Linked DNA regions of Homo sapiens: all the other regions are linked to region 1. The links are contacts of gene promoters, found by promoter capture Hi-C in blood cells and fetal thymus (Javierre and others, 2016). All regions are on one chromosome and are shown on one strand. Each heading gives the region's core, a stretch centred on a gene start or on the middle of the fragment in contact. The rest is flanking DNA. Distances are from core to core; before and after follow the strand shown. Region 1 holds the start of ADD2 (adducin 2). Region 2 has its middle 63 kb from the start of TGFA-IT1. Region 3 has its middle 19 kb from the start of FAM136A. Region 4 has its middle 62 kb from the start of FAM136A. Region 5 has its middle 88 kb from the start of TGFA-IT1. Region 6 has its middle 46 kb from the start of FAM136A.

What was found. Contacts are between HindIII fragments. The CHiCAGO score rates a contact against its expected background, and 5 or more counts as called.
Region 2: a fragment that was not itself captured here is called in contact with the fragment with the promoter of ADD2 in region 1 in 3 of 17 cell types (M1 macrophages, M2 macrophages and M0 macrophages); the score reaches 7.7 in M1 macrophages.
Region 3: a contact is called between a fragment that was not itself captured here and the fragment with the promoter of ADD2 in region 1, in 14 of 17 cell types (M1 macrophages, M2 macrophages, M0 macrophages and 11 more). The highest score is 22.7, in M1 macrophages.
Region 4: a contact is called between a fragment that was not itself captured here and the fragment with the promoter of ADD2 in region 1, in 3 of 17 cell types (M1 macrophages, M0 macrophages and M2 macrophages). The highest score is 10.1, in M1 macrophages.
Region 5: a contact is called between a fragment that was not itself captured here and the fragment with the promoter of ADD2 in region 1, in 1 of 17 cell types (M2 macrophages). The highest score is 5.0, in M2 macrophages.
Region 6: a contact is called between a fragment that was not itself captured here and the fragment with the promoter of ADD2 in region 1, in 11 of 17 cell types (M0 macrophages, M1 macrophages, M2 macrophages and 8 more). The highest score is 15.8, in M0 macrophages.

What each region holds. Positions count from the first base shown.
Region 1 is chr2:70,766,819-70,769,867 of GRCh38, reverse strand. ADD2 (adducin 2) reads left to right here and starts at 1,668. Exons shown (of 16, transcript NM_001617.4): 1 at 1,668-1,982. RefSeq lists enhancers at 428-992, 1,402-1,967, 1,968-2,533. The HindIII fragment of the contact is 9,920 bases long and covers 1-3,049 here.
Region 2 is chr2:70,416,838-70,419,557 of GRCh38, reverse strand. No RefSeq gene overlaps it. Among named protein-coding and RNA genes, the nearest start is that of TGFA-IT1, 63 kb to the left of the region's middle. The HindIII fragment of the contact is 1,834 bases long and covers 547-2,380 here.
Region 3 is chr2:70,319,956-70,322,766 of GRCh38, reverse strand. No RefSeq gene overlaps it. Among named protein-coding and RNA genes, the nearest start is that of FAM136A, 19 kb to the right of the region's middle. The HindIII fragment of the contact is 2,430 bases long and covers 131-2,560 here.
Region 4 is chr2:70,362,513-70,365,465 of GRCh38, reverse strand. No RefSeq gene overlaps it. Among named protein-coding and RNA genes, the nearest start is that of FAM136A, 62 kb to the right of the region's middle. The HindIII fragment of the contact is 256 bases long and covers 1,148-1,403 here.
Region 5 is chr2:70,392,201-70,395,109 of GRCh38, reverse strand. No RefSeq gene overlaps it. Among named protein-coding and RNA genes, the nearest start is that of TGFA-IT1, 88 kb to the left of the region's middle. The HindIII fragment of the contact is 5,769 bases long and covers 1-2,909 here.
Region 6 is chr2:70,346,661-70,349,600 of GRCh38, reverse strand. It overlaps the pseudogene BRD7P6. Among named protein-coding and RNA genes, the nearest start is that of FAM136A, 46 kb to the right of the region's middle. The HindIII fragment of the contact is 1,057 bases long and covers 1,061-2,117 here.

The DNA of each region.
Region 1 (3,049 bases), core at 419-2,918:
GTGACTTATGAAACCTGCTATTTCTAACAAAAATTCTCCATTCTTTTTGGGGGTTCTATTAAGATATAGAGCCCACCTTACCTGTGACTTCTGAGCTCTGGAGAAGGGGTTCCCTGTTTCTCAGATCTCATCACCCATTAGCACCAAAAGAGCTATGGCTGCCAGGAATGACTCAATAAACATAACACGTCCTGGCTTCTTTGACCAGACAGACCTAGGTCCTGGGGTGGGGAGGGGAAGGGGTTTCATCTTGTGTGGCTGAGCCTGTTGTAATTCTTCTAGCAGGTTTTGACAGGAGAATGGGGAGAAGTCTTGTGGACTCGGTGATTCTGAATGAGAATGAGTGAGAAGCTCTGAGTGTGGAAGGAGGGTGCAGGGACCAGGTATGCATGTATGTTTCTTGGAAGGGGGGCTGAAGCAGAAAGACAAGTTTATCCTGGCATCTAGGGTTGTCGTTAGCATTTTCTTTTCTAAATCAGTAGTAGCTCTCAGAGTGGTGTTTCTAAAGTGTTAGTGTGCAAAGGAATCACTAGGGCTGCTTGTTAAAATTACCAATCCTGAGCCTACCTCCAGAGATTCTGGTTCCACAGCAGCACTGTGGTGGGGGCCAGTGACTTTTGTGGGGGTGTCTGAGGGCTGTGGTGCCCCAGAACCTGGAAGGGCAGAGGGGCCATGATCAGGTTTCAGATCAGTGGCCAGAGGCTTTTCTGGAAGCTGTACATTTTCACAAGCACATTTTCAAAAGCCCTTGGAGAGGATGTTGATTGAGGGGAGTTTTGGGGACTGGTGGAGATTATGGGGGTGAAAAGTCCAGAGCTATCTCTTAACACCCCTACTCTCTGAGGGCCAGGCCTTGAAAGTATTGGAAATGGGAGGTGCCTTAGGTACACTGTCATTTTACAGAGGAAGACAACGAGGCCCAGAGAGGTTAAGTGGGTTGATTAAGGTCTCACAGCTAGTTAAGAGCAGCTCTGAGACGGCAACCGAAGTATTCTGGTTCCCTATCCAGTTCCCCACTCACTACACACCTGTTCCTTCTGGGGCGGGAGACCTGAGGAAGGAAAGGAGTGAGAGGAGAATGTAGTGAGAGTTGGAGAGCGTTGGGTCCACAGCCCCCAAGGGCAGGGCCACAACAAAAATGTTGTCCTGGTTGAAAAGGAGTGAGAATCAGGACAGGGAGAATTTTGGTTTGGAATTCAGTCAAACAATTGCTATTAAAATCACTAATAGAATTATCTTCCGAAGGCTAGCTGTCCTTTCCAGACGAAAAGAAATATTCCAAGTCTAAGACTTTTGCTTTCTTCCTTCCAGGGAGAATACATTCCCCCAAGGGAGCTCTGTTTCAGATTTTCTCCCTAGTAACAGACTCCCCTGCTTAGCTCTGGCCATCCCGGGTAGTGAGTGGTGCGGGGCGGGGGTGGAAGGGGGCTGGAAGCCTGGCTAGGGGGGTCTGCGGCGGCGCGGGCGGGGGCGCTGCGGGGAGGAGGGGGGCGCTGCGGGGCGGTAGTGGGGGTGCTGCGGGGCGAGGCCGCTGCGGGGCGGTGGGGGGCGCTGCGGGCGGGGGCACTGCAGCACCGCGGCCCTCGGGCGGCCGGCGCGGCCTGCTGGAGGGGGCGCTGTGGGCACCGCGCAGCGGCCTTTTGTCAGCGCGCAGGGCCAGGAGAGCTCTCATTTCCTCCCAGCCTCGTGCGGGAAATGGCTTTAATTCTGACGGCAGGGCTGTGAGGGACTAGCGGGAACCCGAGCCTTTTGTCAAGGAACTGCGGCGTCGGTGGCCAGTCATCCCCGCCGCCGCGGAGCCGCTGCACTGCTGGGGGATCTCCCAGCAGCTCTGACGAGCGCGGGCTGCAGCATGGGCAGAAAACGCTGCCCTGCAGATTAGCTGGGTGGATTTTTTAAGCGCACCCCACCCCCCAAACCCATAAAATAACAAAACCAACCCGCAGTGGCCGACCGGAGATAGCTAAGATGCCGCGCAGGAGGTAAGGGTCTGGGGAGCGGGCCTGGTGGGCTGCCTGGGGTCGCTGGTCTCCTGGCGCGGAGACCCTGGCATCCCTCGGCCGGGCGGGAGCCGCTTGGCCCAGGTGGGGCGCGTCTGTTGCCGAGCGCGTCGGTGCTGCAGCCCTGGCCGGCAGCGGTGTGTTTTGCGCCTAAAGGTTTCTGGTGATGATGTAGCATCCGAGGCTCTTAGGAAATCGGGGCTGCAAGCACTGGCCCCTGCTTGGGGATGGTGGGACCCTCGCCCGGAGCGTAACGCCTGACAGGTGGGGCTTTCTTTTGGGTCCGAATGGAGGGGCGGCAAGCCTCGCCTCGCCTAGCCGGGCGGGGCCGCTCCTCCCCTCCCCTCCCTCCCCTCCCCTCTCTTTCCTTCCCGCTCGGCCGCCGCCCTCCGGGGTAGCGGTGCGAGGCGGGCTTGGCGGGGCTGGGCGCGTCCCCCGGGGCCTCGCGATCGCTGGCTGCGCGGCGCTCAGCCGCAGTGGCCGGCCGAGCAGGTGCGGCGTCGGCAGCCGCCTACATTGAGATCGGGGCAACCGGCACGTGAGCGGGCCTCGTGGGTTTTGATTTTATGCGGCTCCACCACTTTGGAGGGAAAAATCCCACTGTACCCGAGGGGGTCTTGCCAGTCTGTTTCTTCCATCTTCCCTCTCCTCTCCCTGCCTCCCCTCCCTTTCTGCAGCCGGGGCGGAGGCCATCCCCGGTCCCGGAGGCGGGAGTCGGTGTCTGCTTATTTTTAAATCACACCACAGCCTACCTGGTGTTGGGGGGAAGGGAGGGAGGGGCAGACTGCTTTAGGATGCAGATCAGGCTCTCGGGTCTGGCCTATTGTCTTGCCTTTTCTCTTCCTTCCTTTTCTCACCCCTAATCTCCATCTCTTGCCCAAAACTAAAAATAGAAAATAGGAAATAGAAATAGAAAATAAAAAAGCAAGCTCCAGCCCACACCCTATCAAATTCTTTAAAAAACTGTCATTTATCTCTGACACATGATTAATACCCATCTGTTTCCTTACACCCACTCTTCCCTCTTGCTGTTTGTCGTCTAAGATTCA
Region 2 (2,720 bases), core at 214-2,713, 350 kb after region 1:
GAGGTGCAAAGACACCCAGCTAGGTGCCCAGAGTAGCAGGCAGAATCCTTGCCTTCCATCCTGAAGGCCTCACATCCCCCTACCCTAGGGGATAGAGGTGCAAAGATACCACCTAGAGCTGTCCCTAGCTCCCAGACCTATCCCACCAGCCCTCTAGCAGTCTCCATCTGGCTTCAGGAAAGCTGTTGGAAAAAATTCAGGTGGATTCTGTTTTCTTCACAATACTAATTTGATAGGGTTTGAGGAGGAGCCCAGGAATTAGCCTTTGTTTGTTTGTTTGTTTTTCGTTTAACCTCTCTGGATGATGCTGATGGGCGGCTGAATTTAGGAACATGTTTTAGAGGCATCTAAAACATTTCCCTTTCTTTGAAACTCTGGCTCTCCTTAGCAGAACTGGTCTAGCCACCCACCTTAGCCTTCCCTGGGCTCTTCACACAGGCCCCCTAAGGGGCCCATACACATATGAAATCTATCACCCCCTTTACACATATCTCTTACCCCTCAAAAATAAGTAGAGGTTGGATCAACTGGGTCCAACTCCAAGCTTTGCTACTTACCAGCCCACGTCCCTGGGAAACTGACGAGCATTTGAGCCTCCGTTTCCTCAGCTGTAAGACGAAAATAATAATTATTGCCTAGGTTAACGAGGTTGAAAGGACCCAGGTGTGGGAAAGCACTACGCATGTGTACAGCATGGGCAAAGGCTACAATCGTTATTCACAGGTGTTGGTTCAGAGCTCTCCTCCCAGTGGGTGGTCCTCAAACTGGTTCCTGGCCTTTTAGAGACACCACAATGACCAGTGATATGGTTCGGCTCTGTGTTCCCACCCAAATCTCATGTCAAATTGTAATCCTCATTGCTGGAGGAGAGGCCTCGTGGGAGGTGATTGGATCATGGGGACGGACTTCCTCCTTGCTGTTCTGGTGACAGTGAGTGAGTTCTCGCGGGATCTGGTGGTTTAAAAGCGTGTAGCACGTCCCCCTTCACGCTCTGTAGCCTGCTTTGCTGGGTAAAGATGTGTCTGCTTCCCCTTCGCTTTCCTCCGTGATTTTAAGTTTCCTGAGGCCTCCCCAGCCATGCTTCCTGTACAGCCTGTAGAACTGTGAGTCAATTAAACCTCTTTTCTTATAAATTATCTAGTCTCAGGCAGTGCTTTATAGCAATGCAAGAACAGACTAATATAACCAGCATCCTTAATTCATTTCCAACCATTCCTCTAAATTTAAGGGATGGGGAGAGAGGAGGGTCGAAGGGCCTTGGGTGTGGGTGTGCCCTGCTTGGGTTAGGGGAACTCCATTTGAACAGTTGTCTTCACCACTCAAGAGTTCCTTTAGGAAAATCGTCCTATGCTGAAAACCAGGCTGGGGTAGGGGAGGGAGAATGCTGTGTGTGAAAGAAGTGATGAGTTACCACACTTCTAATAAGTTGAACCAGGCTTTAATTTTTTTTACTAAGCTACATTATTTGGGCTTTCACTAAAAAATTCTATTAATATTTTTAATGAGAAATGTGCTTGGGTATGCTTTATTACAGTTTGAAATCTTGTTTAATTCATTTTGATGCAGCATTTCCAAGATTTGTTCTAAAGTGGGCTTTTTTCAATACTTGTATTGATTGGCTATTATTGCTGGAAAAGATACTTCCCAAAGACACCTGCAGTACATCCAAATGGGAGAAGCGAATTGTGATATTCAGTGTTCAAACTGACACCAATTATACAAAGGCTTTTGTTGAAATGCAGCTGGTGAATTTATATATTCCTGACGCCAATTGTTCCACAAACTAATTGGAAGGTGTCACATTTTTACATTAACAAGGTTCAAAACTCACTGAAACTCTTCATTTAAAGATTTGTAAATACTGAGAAAAGCATGTTCCTAAGTTTTTTAAGAAGGCAGATCTGGGCATTTTTTTTAGGAGGCCCACTGCACTTTTTACTATAAAATTATATGACTACATTACCAAATACTCATCCTCAATTCTGTCTCCATAGCACAAGTTCCCGTCATCGCAAAGCAACTATTTTCTCCCTCATTGCTAGAGGATCACCATTACCTCAGAAGAACAAAATACCTGTGTTTATTGTTTTAAAAATTGCTTTTAGAAAGCACACTTCTAAGGGTCACTTGTCATCACTGATAAATGGGCAGCATATTCATAGCCCTTCTCTTTATAAAAGGAAATTTCTTGTTTTTAAGCATTCTGCCACAAGATAATCAGCTAATCTCTATGTGGTATAAAAGATGCTTGTAGTCACTACCCATCTCATTCAGAATATTAAGATTCCACTGTATTTTTATAGTCTTTTTTTTCATTATTACCAAATTGCTGATCTAGCACCTAGGGTACATATGGCTTCAACAGCATTATTGGAAAGCTTGCTTTTTAATAATATAGTGAATTAATTTCATCTAAGGTGTTACCTCTATAACCTTACTTCTGAATCCTCTTTTGTATGTTGTTCAAAGCAAACACTCGGTTAATGATTACACAATTTTTTCTAAAATTAAGTGTATTACAAAGCCACTCACTGTTGAAAAATATCCTTTGTATGATCTTCCTTTAGTAATTAAAAATTATGTCTTTTGGGTTCTTGTTTCCTGCTATAATTATGTATTTGTCTAGTCCTTCTCATTCCATCAGTATTTGTTTTATGTTTTTTGAAGCTTTTTATTGGGTACATAGATATTTAGGATTGTTATGTCTTCTTAATGTATTG
Region 3 (2,811 bases), core at 96-2,595, 450 kb after region 1:
ACCCTGCCCCACACACATGACTCTGTAACACAAGGCTCTCTGGCCGTCTACCACCTCTGGTATTTTCATCATCATAGCACTCAGGGTTTCCATGCCCTGACTCAACTTCCTTCTGTTTCTGTCTCAAGCTTTTCCACCATGCCCACCAGAATTAGTTTTGAGTGTAATAAATGCCCCCATACTGCCAACCTTTCTACTAAGGTTTCCTTCACCTCCTTGTCTTAACTGAAACCTAGATTTTCCCATAAGATCCCCACTTCTAAAACATTAAGTACTATGGAAACCACTACCACATTTCATTTCAAAGTGTTCTTTCCTTTTTATTTCATCTTCCTTCCTCTTTATGTACTCCATTAGGCAGATCCATCTTCATTTCTATTATCTCATTATCTTTTTTTTCCATTTCCTAGAAACTATGTTTTCTTGACTTTAAAGAACAAGGCAAGCCTCCTCACACCTGTGATCCCACCACTTTGGGAGGCCAAGATGGGTGGATCACCCAAAGTCAGGAGTTCAAGACCAGCCTGGCCAACGTGGCAAAACCCCATCTCTACTGAAAATAACAAAAATTAGCCAGGCATGGTGGCACACACCTATAATCCCAGCTACTTGGGAGGTTGAGGCCAGAGAATCGCTTAAACCTGGAAGGTGGAGGTTGCAGTGAGCAGAGATGGTGCCACTGCTCTCCAGCCTGGGTGACAGAACAAGACTCTGTCTCAAAAAAAAAAAAAAAGAAAAAAAGAAAAAAGAACAATGCAATGCAAGCCTGGACAACGAGGTGAGACCCTGTCTCTACAAAAAAATTAAAAATTAGCTGAGCATAGTGGTATGTGTCTGTAGTCCTAGCTACTAGGGAGGCTGTGCCTGGAGGATCACTTGAGCCCAGGAGTTTAAGGTTATCGTGAGCTTTTTTTTTTTTTTTTAAGAGACAGGGTCTCACTCTGTTGCCCAGGCTTCAGTGCAGTGGCACAATCATAGCTCACTGCAGCCTCAAGCTCCTGGGCTCAAGTGATCCTTCTGCCTCAACCTCCCAAAGTGCTGAGGATTACAGAGATGAGCCACTGAACCCAGCCTACAGTGAGCTATGATCACCTAGTGGCTCTTTAGCCCTTCTTAACATCCATAACAAATCTCACAACCTCCACTGTGTCTGCTGCCACAGTCAAGATGTTACGCAAGCAGCCCTCAGCCACCCGCCACCTCTTGCCTTCCTCTCTACCTCCCTCATCCAGCCGGATTACATCAGCTAACAACTCTTGGATCTGTGAAGAACTTTGCTGACACTCTAAACTGCTCCTCAAAAACTACTAAGAGATGGGGCATGGTGGCTCACGCCTGTAATCCCAGCACTTTGCAGGCTGAGGCAGGCAGATCACTTGAGGACGGGAGTTCGAGACCAGCCTAGCCAACATGGTGAAACCTCGTCTCTACTAAAAATACAAAAATTGGCCAGGCGCGGTGGCTCACACCTGTAATCCCAGCACTTCGGGAGGCCGAGGCGGGCAGATCACGAGGTCAGGAGATCGAGACCATCCTGACCACAGTGAAACCCCATCTCTACTAAAAATACAAAAAAGTAGGTGGGCGTGGTGGCGGGCGCCTGTAGTCCCAGCTACTCAGGAGGCTGAGGCAGGAGAATGGCGTGAACCCGGGAGGCAGAGCTTGCACTGAGCCGAGACTGCGCCACGGCACTCCAGCCTGGGCGACAGAGCAAGACCCCATCTCAAAAAACAAAACAAAACAAAAAATTAGCCGGACATGGTGGCAGTTGCCTGTAATCCCTGCTACTAGGGAGGCTGAGGCATGAGAATCACTTGAACCCGGGAGGTGGAGGTTGCAGTGAGCCTAGATCGTGCCACTGCACTCCAGCCTGGGTGACAGAGTGTGCCCTGTCTCAAAAAAAAAAAAAAAAAGTTACTAAGAGCTTGCTGCTTTGTTACTGCCCCCTGAGTCCCCACTGCCCTTGAATCCCACTGGCCTACAAGGGACACTTGTCAAGAAGCAGGAAGGCATGGTGGTTACAGGTATGGCCTCTGGAGCCAGACAGCCTGGGTTTGAATCCTGGCTTTACTACTTGCAAACACATGACCTTGTGTAAGGTGCTTAACTTTTCTGTTTCCTCATCTGTAAAATGCAGACAATAATAATAATACCATAGGATTAGAATGAGGATTTGAAGACATATTTCCAAAGCACCTAGAATAATGCCCGGCACATCGTAAGCCAGACGTTTGTAAATAAATAAATGAGACTCTGTGTACCAACGGAGCTATTTCCCCTATGTCCAGCATTGATCATGACATCCCCAGTCTTCTCCATTCATTTTCCTTTTAATTTTTTATTTTGAAATATTTTCGAGCACACAGGAAAGTAAACACAGAGACTAATACAGCCAATGCCTATGTGCTTATCAGGCAGACTAATTTTTAAAACATTTGTGTAGCAGAGAGAGAAATATGTGTATTTGTGTGTACATGTGTATTATTCTAAGATATAGAGACAGAGTTCTGCCTGAGGAGAAATGAGTTCTTTTACTTAACTTGAATATAAAAGTGAAGCTTCTAGGACTTGGGCTGGACAGGTGAAAGGAAAACACACAAAGAAGCCTGGGAGACTGGATCCAGAAAGGAAGATACGATAAGGGTGGAGGAAAGAAAGGCCAAACCTCATAGTGAGTAGAATGTTCTTCTCCACAGAAGCAGGAATCGCTGAGGCCTTTCTGAACCACACAATCCTATGTTCAAGTTAAAGCTGTTTGCTGTGCCGTGATGCTGTATGACTTCTCTTGTTGCCTCAAACTTTCCATCAACA
Region 4 (2,953 bases), core at 26-2,525, 400 kb after region 1:
GAGCACTGAGGGTCAGGAGGCTCTCCCTCCTTCCATTCCCACCGTAATGGGAGCTGCCTACTGCTGAGAGGACCTTCCTATCTGTGAAGTCTGAACCACTCCTGGCCTGTAAGTTTGGCCAGAAAGCAGCTGTGTGTGGAAAGGGCCCCTGGAGGTTGGAATGCCATGAGGTTAATCCTGCCGTGGGGTCAGGCAGGCAGGAAGCACCATGGACGTGGGGAAAGCATCCTCTCATCCTTGTTCTCTTCTCACCATCTCACCAGGGGCAAAATTGAGGTAGGAAATTTGCATTCCGATCAGACAGTCTGAGACCACTGTCAGGCTCCAGTCCTCAAAGATTAAACAGGGATTCCACCCCCCAGCTGTGACTCCATTTTCTGACCACAGGGTCCTTATGTAGCTGCTTGGATCGCTGTAGCAAATCTCTATACCAAAGGCCCCAGTGTCCTTGGTAATGTGATGTCTCCTCTCATCAAGAGGTGGAGTCCAGCAGCCAGGGCAGCAGCTCACATCTGTAATCCCAGCACTTTGGGAGGCCAAGGCAGGAGGATTGTCTGAGCCCAGGAGTTTGAGGCCAGCCTGAGCAACATAGTGAGACCTCACCTCCACAAACGAAACAGTTAAATAAAGAGGTGGAGTATATGTCTCCACCCCCTTGAATCTGGGCAGTCCTTGTGACTTAGAATGTGGAGGAACTGTTCTATGCAAGTTCCGGAGCCTAGGCCTCAGAAGGCCTTGCAGCTTCCACCCTCGCTCTCATGCCGTCCAGTGAGTCTAGCATACTCCTGGAGAGCAAGGTGACCCGGCCAACAGCCAGAACCCCCTGTCAGATGTGTGAATGAGACAAGCTTGGCCCATGCAGCTCTTTGAGGTACCAGTGACTGTTCACAGCATTCGTGAGCCCAGGCAAGATCAGAGAAGACTGAGCGCTTGGCCCTCCACCCAGAAAAGTTGTCATCTAAATGTCCTCGGGTTTTACTCGTACTGTTAGCCTTGCCTAGATGAAGGGTCCTCAATCCAAGCTGCACATTAGAATACCCTGGGGAGTGGTTTTTTTTTTTTTCCTTCAAATCCCAAGGACACATCTAAAACCAAGCAAATCAGAATCTCTGGAGGTAGCACCCAGGCGTCAGTATTGTTTAAAGCTTCCAGGTGATGTCCATACACAATTAAGGCTGAGAGTCACTGGTATAGAAACTTGCTACTCAAAGTGAGTTCCCAGACCAGCAGCTCTGGAGCCACTTGGGAGCTTGTTAGAAACAGAATCTTGGGCCCCACGCCACAACAAGGTGCCCAGGTGATTGGAATGCCCATTAGAGTGCTGGCCTGGAGCACTGCCCACCGCGCCTTCCTCACTCCATCTGCCGAACTCACACTCACCCTCTCATTCTCTCAGTGAAGCTTTCCCAAACCACCCCACCCTAACTCAGGCGCATCCCATGCTGCTCTTGGGGCACCCTGTGCTAACTACTTCATGGCTTTTCCCACAACTGAGCTTCAATCATTGTGCACTGATTCTGTTGATGTCTGTGTCCTCTAGTAGAAGGTGAGTTCCCCTGGGGCAGGATTCAGTTCTGCCTTATCCACTATTGTGGCCTCAGCACCAAGAAATGTGCCTGACACATAGTAAGGCTTTAGTAAGTATTTATTGAATTTCAAAGTTACTCCTAGGCAGCACAGAGTTCTTCCAAATAGTGCTCACTATGAGACATCTATGGCTGTGGTGGAGAAGGTAATGGAGTAACAGGGATGAAGGCTTACTTGCTGTGAAAGGAGGTTTCCAGGGGTGTATGAGAAGTGGCATGGTAGCCCCTGGAGGTCGAGAATCTCCATGGTAAACTGATGGTGCTGGAGCCAGAAGGACATGGGAGCTGCAAGGGATGTAATGTACCACCTGGATGAGGGCAGCCACCGCCAGCAGGGGACAACAGGGCAAAGGAGGAAAGAGGTGAAATCTAGAATGGTGGAGGCTTAGGGGTGTTCAGTGATCACAGGATGCAGCACAGACAGGTTCCCATGGATGTGAGACACTCATTCTTGGTAGATTTATTGATCTCAGAATTTTCTTTCCAGACACATGCATGTACATACGTATCTCTTGCACCGGCAGTCTGGAGTCCTCTCCTCTCTCTGAGTAGAAAACTCTAGCTTTAGTAACACCTCAGTCCAACTGCAGAAATGCACCATGCTAAGACAAGGAACACAATTTTTTTTTCTATGAAAAGAGCTGTAGAAATACAATTTTTAATAGTGAACTGGAATGGGACATGCTGCTGAGATCAGACATGGATGAAGGATTGAGCTCCCCAGACTTGGGCCCCCAGCCCCTTGGATGTCAGCAAAGCGGTGGGTGCAGGGGTGAGCCAAAGTGGTCTCCCAAGTCCCTGATGAGCATACACTCCGTGGTGGCCCTGAGAAGGTGACAGTGGGGTTCCAAATGAACTTCTCTTCTCAGATGAGGATCGTTAGTTTGGAAACAATGAGGGGTTCATTCCACTTAAACTATAGTGAAGAGCCTGGTCTCCCACAGCATCGTGGCCACTAACCTTGTCACTCTTCTCACAGCCACCCCCAGCTTAAGGATTCACTCATTACTCATTCATTTGGCAAATATTTGCTCGGTATCCAACGCACTCAGGCACTGTGCTAAACCCTGGTGATACAGTGGTGAAATAAAGACTATCAGGGCCAGCTGCAGCAGCTCATGCCTGTAGTCCCAGCGCTTTGGGAGGACGAGGTGGGAGGATTGCTTGAGCCTAGGAGTTTGAGACCAGCCTGGGCAACATAGAAAGATCACATATCTACAAAAAAGAGAAAATAATTAGTGGAACATGATGGCGTGTGCCAGTAATCCCAGCTACTGTGGAGGCTGAGGCAGGAGGATCACTTGAGCCCAGGAGTCAAGGCTGCAGTGACCTATAATTGCACCAACACACTCCAGCCTAGGCAATAG
Region 5 (2,909 bases), core at 101-2,600, 370 kb after region 1:
CATTCATGTGGCCAACAAACATATGAAAAAAAGCTAATCATCACTGATCACTAGAGAAATGCAAATCAAAACCACAATGAGCTACCATTTTATACCAGTCATAATGGTGATTATTAATAAGAAACAACAGATGCCAATGAGGTTGCAGAGAAAAAGAATGCTTTTACATTGTTAGTGGGAATGTAAATTAGTTCCACCATTGTGGAAGATAGTGTGGCAATTCCTCAAAGATCTAGAAACAAACACAGTTTGACCCAGCAATCCCATTACTGGGTATATGCCCAAAGGAATATAAATCATTCTGTTATAAAGATACAAGTCCACGTATGTTCATTATAGCACTATTCGCAATAACGAAGACGTGGAACCAACCCAAATGTCCATCAATGATAGACTGGATAAAGAAAATGTGGTACATATACACCATGGAATACTATACAGCCATAAAAAAGTAATGAGATCATGTCCTTTGCAGGGACATGAATGGAGCTGGAAGCCATTATCCTCAGCAAACTAACGCAAGAACTGAAAACCAAACACCACATGTTTCCTATTAAAAGTAGGAGCTGAATGATGAGAACACATGGACACATGGTGGGGACAGGGAACAACACACACTGGGGCCTGTCAGGGAGGGCAGGGGGAAGGGAGAGCATCAGGAAGAATAGCTAATGGATGCTGGGCTCAATACCTAGGTAACAGGTTGATCTGTGCAGCAAACCACCATGGCACACATTTACCTATGTAACAAACCTGTACATCCTGCACATGTACCCCAGAACTTAAAAGTTGAAGAAGAGGAGGAAGCCAGAGGGAGATTGACCCAGAAGAAGGGAAAAGCAATGTGATCCCAGAGGCAGAGAGTGGAGAAATGCGGCCAGCAATCAGGAGAAACTGGAGGAGGCAAGGAGACCCCAGAGACTCCAGAGAGAGCACAGACCCACTGACACCTTGATTTTAGTTCAGTGATACTGATGGCAGATTTCTGGCCCCTATAACTGTGAAAATAGATCTTTGTCAAAAATCGCCGAGTGTGGCAATTTGTTATAGCAGCCACAAGAAGCTAATGTGGAGAGTTATGTTCTACCTCCTTGAGGGTGCAGTGTCTATATAAATAATTTGAAATTCTTCTGCATTGGAGATTTGCCTCTTTGCCCACTTTGTTATTTATTCATTTATTTACAAAAATATATGAACTCATAAATATTTATACTTTGTGTTATAATCCATTACTGCTTTATTTTGTTCTCCACATTCTTTTGAGAGACACATGTCTTTCTCTTTGCAGGTAACCTACTACATCCACAGGTGCCTTGGGCAGGGCACATGAGAAGGTTCTAGAGATTAAATGGAGATTTAGAAGATGAGTTTGTCCACACCCAAGACAGTGACCTGCAGGCTGGGTGTGCAGATTTTGAAACAGAAACAGAGTAATAAACTTTCCATTAAAGCAAAAATGCAAAGGACAGTGTTACATGCACACATAAAATGGATTTTGCACACAAGTGACTAAATGGATAAATAATATCTCTAAAATATGCATCAAGTCTTCTCAGTAGTATAAGTTAACAAAATATCTTAGTTTATTCAGGCTGCTATAACAAAATACCTTAGACTGGGCAATTTATAAACAACAGAAATTTATTGCTCATGGTTCTGGAGGCTGGGAAGTCCAAGATCAAGGAGTCAGCAGATTTAGGTGGAAGGGAAAATCAAGCTCCCTCAAGCCTCTTTAACAAGAGACCCTAATCACACTCATGACAGCAGAGCCCTCATGACCTCATCATCTCCTAAAAGCCCCACCTCTTAATACTTGCAATGGAGATTAGGTTTCAACATATGGATTTTGGGGAGGACACAAACGTTCAGATCATAGCAACGTGGAATTTATAAGAATAAAAACTTAGTTTGGGTCTTGGTTGATGTCACTGATGGATTTTAGTCACCCTGAACTAACAAAAAACAGCAGCTATAGTCTATTTTCTTCAGAAAAACCTCAAAGCAAAGCGACTCCACACCTGTATGTCATTCTCACTCAAAAAATTTTCTGTTCCTTGCTGACAAGGTTTTCCTTGTTTCGAACAGAAGTCTCTTCAGCTTTAATTTCTATTTTCAGTCATCCAGAGATAGAACGAATATGTGTTTCCAAAAAAGTTTTAATGCCAAATTGGGTTGGGGACAAGGAGGGCTGCAAAGGCCATGGTACTTGAGGGAACAGTGAGAGGAAAGGGCCCTGGTCTAAGTGCTAGATACACAGGCCTTAGATTTCCTTCATGTGCCATTACTTTGCTGTGAACAAGATTGTTAATTTAAGAACATATTTCTCAAAGAAGGGAGAGATCACAGCCCAGTCTCCAGGAGTTAAAAGGGTAGTCTTTGGCATAGGACAGACCCGGGTTTTCGTTTTGGCTGTACCTCTTACCAGTTGTGAGATGTTGGGCAAGTTATCTCCCTGGGGCTCATTTTTCTCATCTGTAAAATAAAGACCATATCTATGTCATAGGTCATGTGAAGAGTATATGGAATCATGTTGACAGAACATGGCAAGCCCTGAACTGACCTTAACTAGACCTGGCAGTATATTAGGGTCCAATCCCCACCCTCTTCTCCCCTTCCCCCACTGCACAGGTGGGTTCCTGAATTGTTCTTGCTGCCTTAAATTAGTACAGCCCCAAACTGCAACCTGTAATCTTCCCTCTGACACTGAACAAAGGCCTTCAGGCCAAAAACTCATCCTCTGCCTTGGGTTTCTGAGTATACCCTTGATGAGGCTAAAAGTGGGCCCCAACCCACCTTGTTTAGCATACACTAACCCTGACTCCTTGCCTAGCATGCACTAGCACTGACTCCTTGCCTAGCATGCACTAGCCCTGGCTCCTTGCCTAGCATGCTTTAGCACTGACTCCTTA
Region 6 (2,940 bases), core at 340-2,839, 420 kb after region 1:
CCAGCAGCCTGGAAATTTCAGCAGAAATTGATGTTGCAGTCTTGAATCCTGAGGTAGTCTGGAAGCAGAATTCCTTCCTCTCACAGAGACGGCCATCTTTTCTCTGAGGCCACCCACAGTATGGAGAATAATCTGCTTTCCTCAATATCTCCTGATTTCAGTGTTAACCTAATATGAAAAAATACCTTCCTAGCAACATCTAGATCACTGTTTGAGCCAATAACTGGGTACCATAGCCCAGCCAGGTTGACACTTTAAATTAACTACCACGTTCTCCATGTTTTTAGGTCTTCTTTGATGTCTTCCATAAAGGTTTTGCATATCTGCTTGTTAGACTTATTACTGGATTCATAGTTTTTGTTGCTGTTGGAAATAGTATACATATATTTCTAACTTTATATTGAGGTATAGCATTCATATGGCAAAGTGCACAAATCACAAATGTCCAACTTGATGAATTTTTGCAAACCTAACACATCCATAAAACTAGCAAACAGAAACACAGAACCTTACTAACATCCCAGAAGCCCACTTGTACCTTCCTCCAGTAGCTGTTCACCACCTTTCCCCCTCATCAAGAGTAACTGCCCTGACTTCTAACACCATGATTGGTTTTCCCTGGTTTGGGATTTGATATAAATCATAGAAAATGTGCTTTTTTTTTTAAAGCTGATCTCTTAACATTCTGTTTGATATTTTTTCATATTGGATGCAGTTGTTGGTTCGTTCTCACTGCTGTTTTGAATTCCATTGATTACACCAGTCTTCTGTCAGTTTATCCATTCTACCATTGGTGGGCATTTGGGAAGCTGTTTGGGGCTAATGCAAATGGTGTTACTCTGAATATGTTTTTGGTGAACATAAAGATATAGGAAATGATTGTACATATCATTTGGTGAAAGTAGAATATAGGAAATGATGTATTTTTAATTATAATTCTGTTATTTAAGATGTTTAGGACCACTACTGAGTTTTCTAAGTCAATCTTAATTTGTCATCTGAAGACTTTTTTGGAACATATATGTAGAGAGTCGTAACACCTGGGCAATATTTCCAAGCTTTGCTGTGGCATTTGACATTCGTCCCAGGTCACCAGAGAGGCAAAAGCACCACCGCCCAGAAAGGACTCCTTCTGATAGAGGAAAAACCCTTTAAACTCCTTTGTCCTCTGGCTGGCAGCTCTCTTTGACTCAAGGCAATCTTATGAAGAGGGAGTTCTAGTCAAATAGACATAACAATTCCTACACCTGTGTCCCAACCACACACTCTTCACCTTCTGAATTTGGCCTTTGTGGTAGGCAGAATAAGACTTTCCAAAAATGTCCATGTCCTAATCCTCAGAACCTGTGAATATGTTATCGTACCTGGTAAAAGGGACTTTGTGGACGTGAATAAATTAAGGATTTTGAGATGGGGAGGTTATCCTGGATTATCTGGGTGGGCCCAAAATAATCATAAGGTTCTTTATAAGACAAAGGCAGGAAGGTCAGAGTCATAGAAGAACATGTGATTATGGAAGCAGAAGTCATATTGGCAGATGCTACCTTTGCTGGCTTTGACAATGGAGGAAGGGAGCATGGGCCAAGGAATGCAGGTGGCCTCCAGCAGCTGTAAAAACAAGGAAAAAGATCCCCTAGAGCCTCCAGAAGGAATCAGCCCTTTTGTCCCTTGACATTAGCCCAGTGAGATTGATTTTAGACTTCTGATCTTCAGAACTGTAAGATAATAAATTTGTGTTGTTTTAAACTACTAAATTTACAGTAATTTATTATAGCAGCAATACAGACTTCATCCCCAGCTCCCCTGCCCCCAGGTAACTGGAGAGGGTGATTTCCTGCTTCCTGCAGAGCACCACTCCCAACCCCACCCCTGGTCCTCACTGCAGGACTTGGTAGATGAACAGGGCTCTCTACTAACTTTCTTTCACATATAGATGCACCTTGATTTACAATGGGGTTACATCCTGATAAACCCACCATAAGTTGAAAGTACTAAAAATCCAAAATGCATTGAATATGCCTAACCTACTGAACATCAGAGCTTAGCCTAGTCTACCTTAAAAGTCCTCAGAACACTTACATTACTCTACAGTTGAGCAAATCATTGAACACAAAGCTTATTTTATAATAGTGTTAAATATCTCATGTAATTTATTGAATACTATACTGAAGTTGGAAAACAGAATGGTTGTGTTAAACTAAACTAAAACTTAAAGCCCTTGGCATAAGCATTCTAGGATTTACAGTAGCAGTGGAACTTAATCTTATGACTAATAATCTCAAACTTGAATCCCCTTCACACACATATAAATTCTTCAACATATTAGGTTTCTTCCCATTACAATACACCACATGATATCATATTCAAACCTCACTGCAACCAAAATATAACATCTCTTCTATTAGACTTAATTGCAATAGAAAAAACAATATCAACAAATGTAGCCCAATTCCAAAAACTCAAAGTACAGTTTCTGCTGAATGTGTATCACTTTTGTACCATCTAAAGTCAAAAAATCCTAAATCAAACAATCCTAAGTCAGGGACCATCCACACAGTCTTCAAGAGGTCCCTGGTACAGGCAGGGCTGCCTGTCTCTCTTCTCTGTTCCCATGCTGGGGCCTCCCTGGTTGTTCCCTGCCCTCCCTCAGGTGCTGTCAGTCCACAGAGAGAAGAGAAGCCATGTTCAGAGGCATGGCCAGGTTCTAACAAAAGGGGAAGCCAGTAGCAGTGCCCAGGCTCAAAACCTTCCTCTAAAATCTCATCAGCACCCCCTCACCACCACCCCACACAAGCCACCTCCTAAAACACTCGGTGCAAAACCCTGCAATTGCAGCTTCAAGACAAGTTCCCTAACTCTGTTCCACTCTCTTCCAGCTGGATTGCATCCCCTAAATCCAGTGATCCAGAAATTCTGGAGCCTCCACCAGGAAGAGAGAGC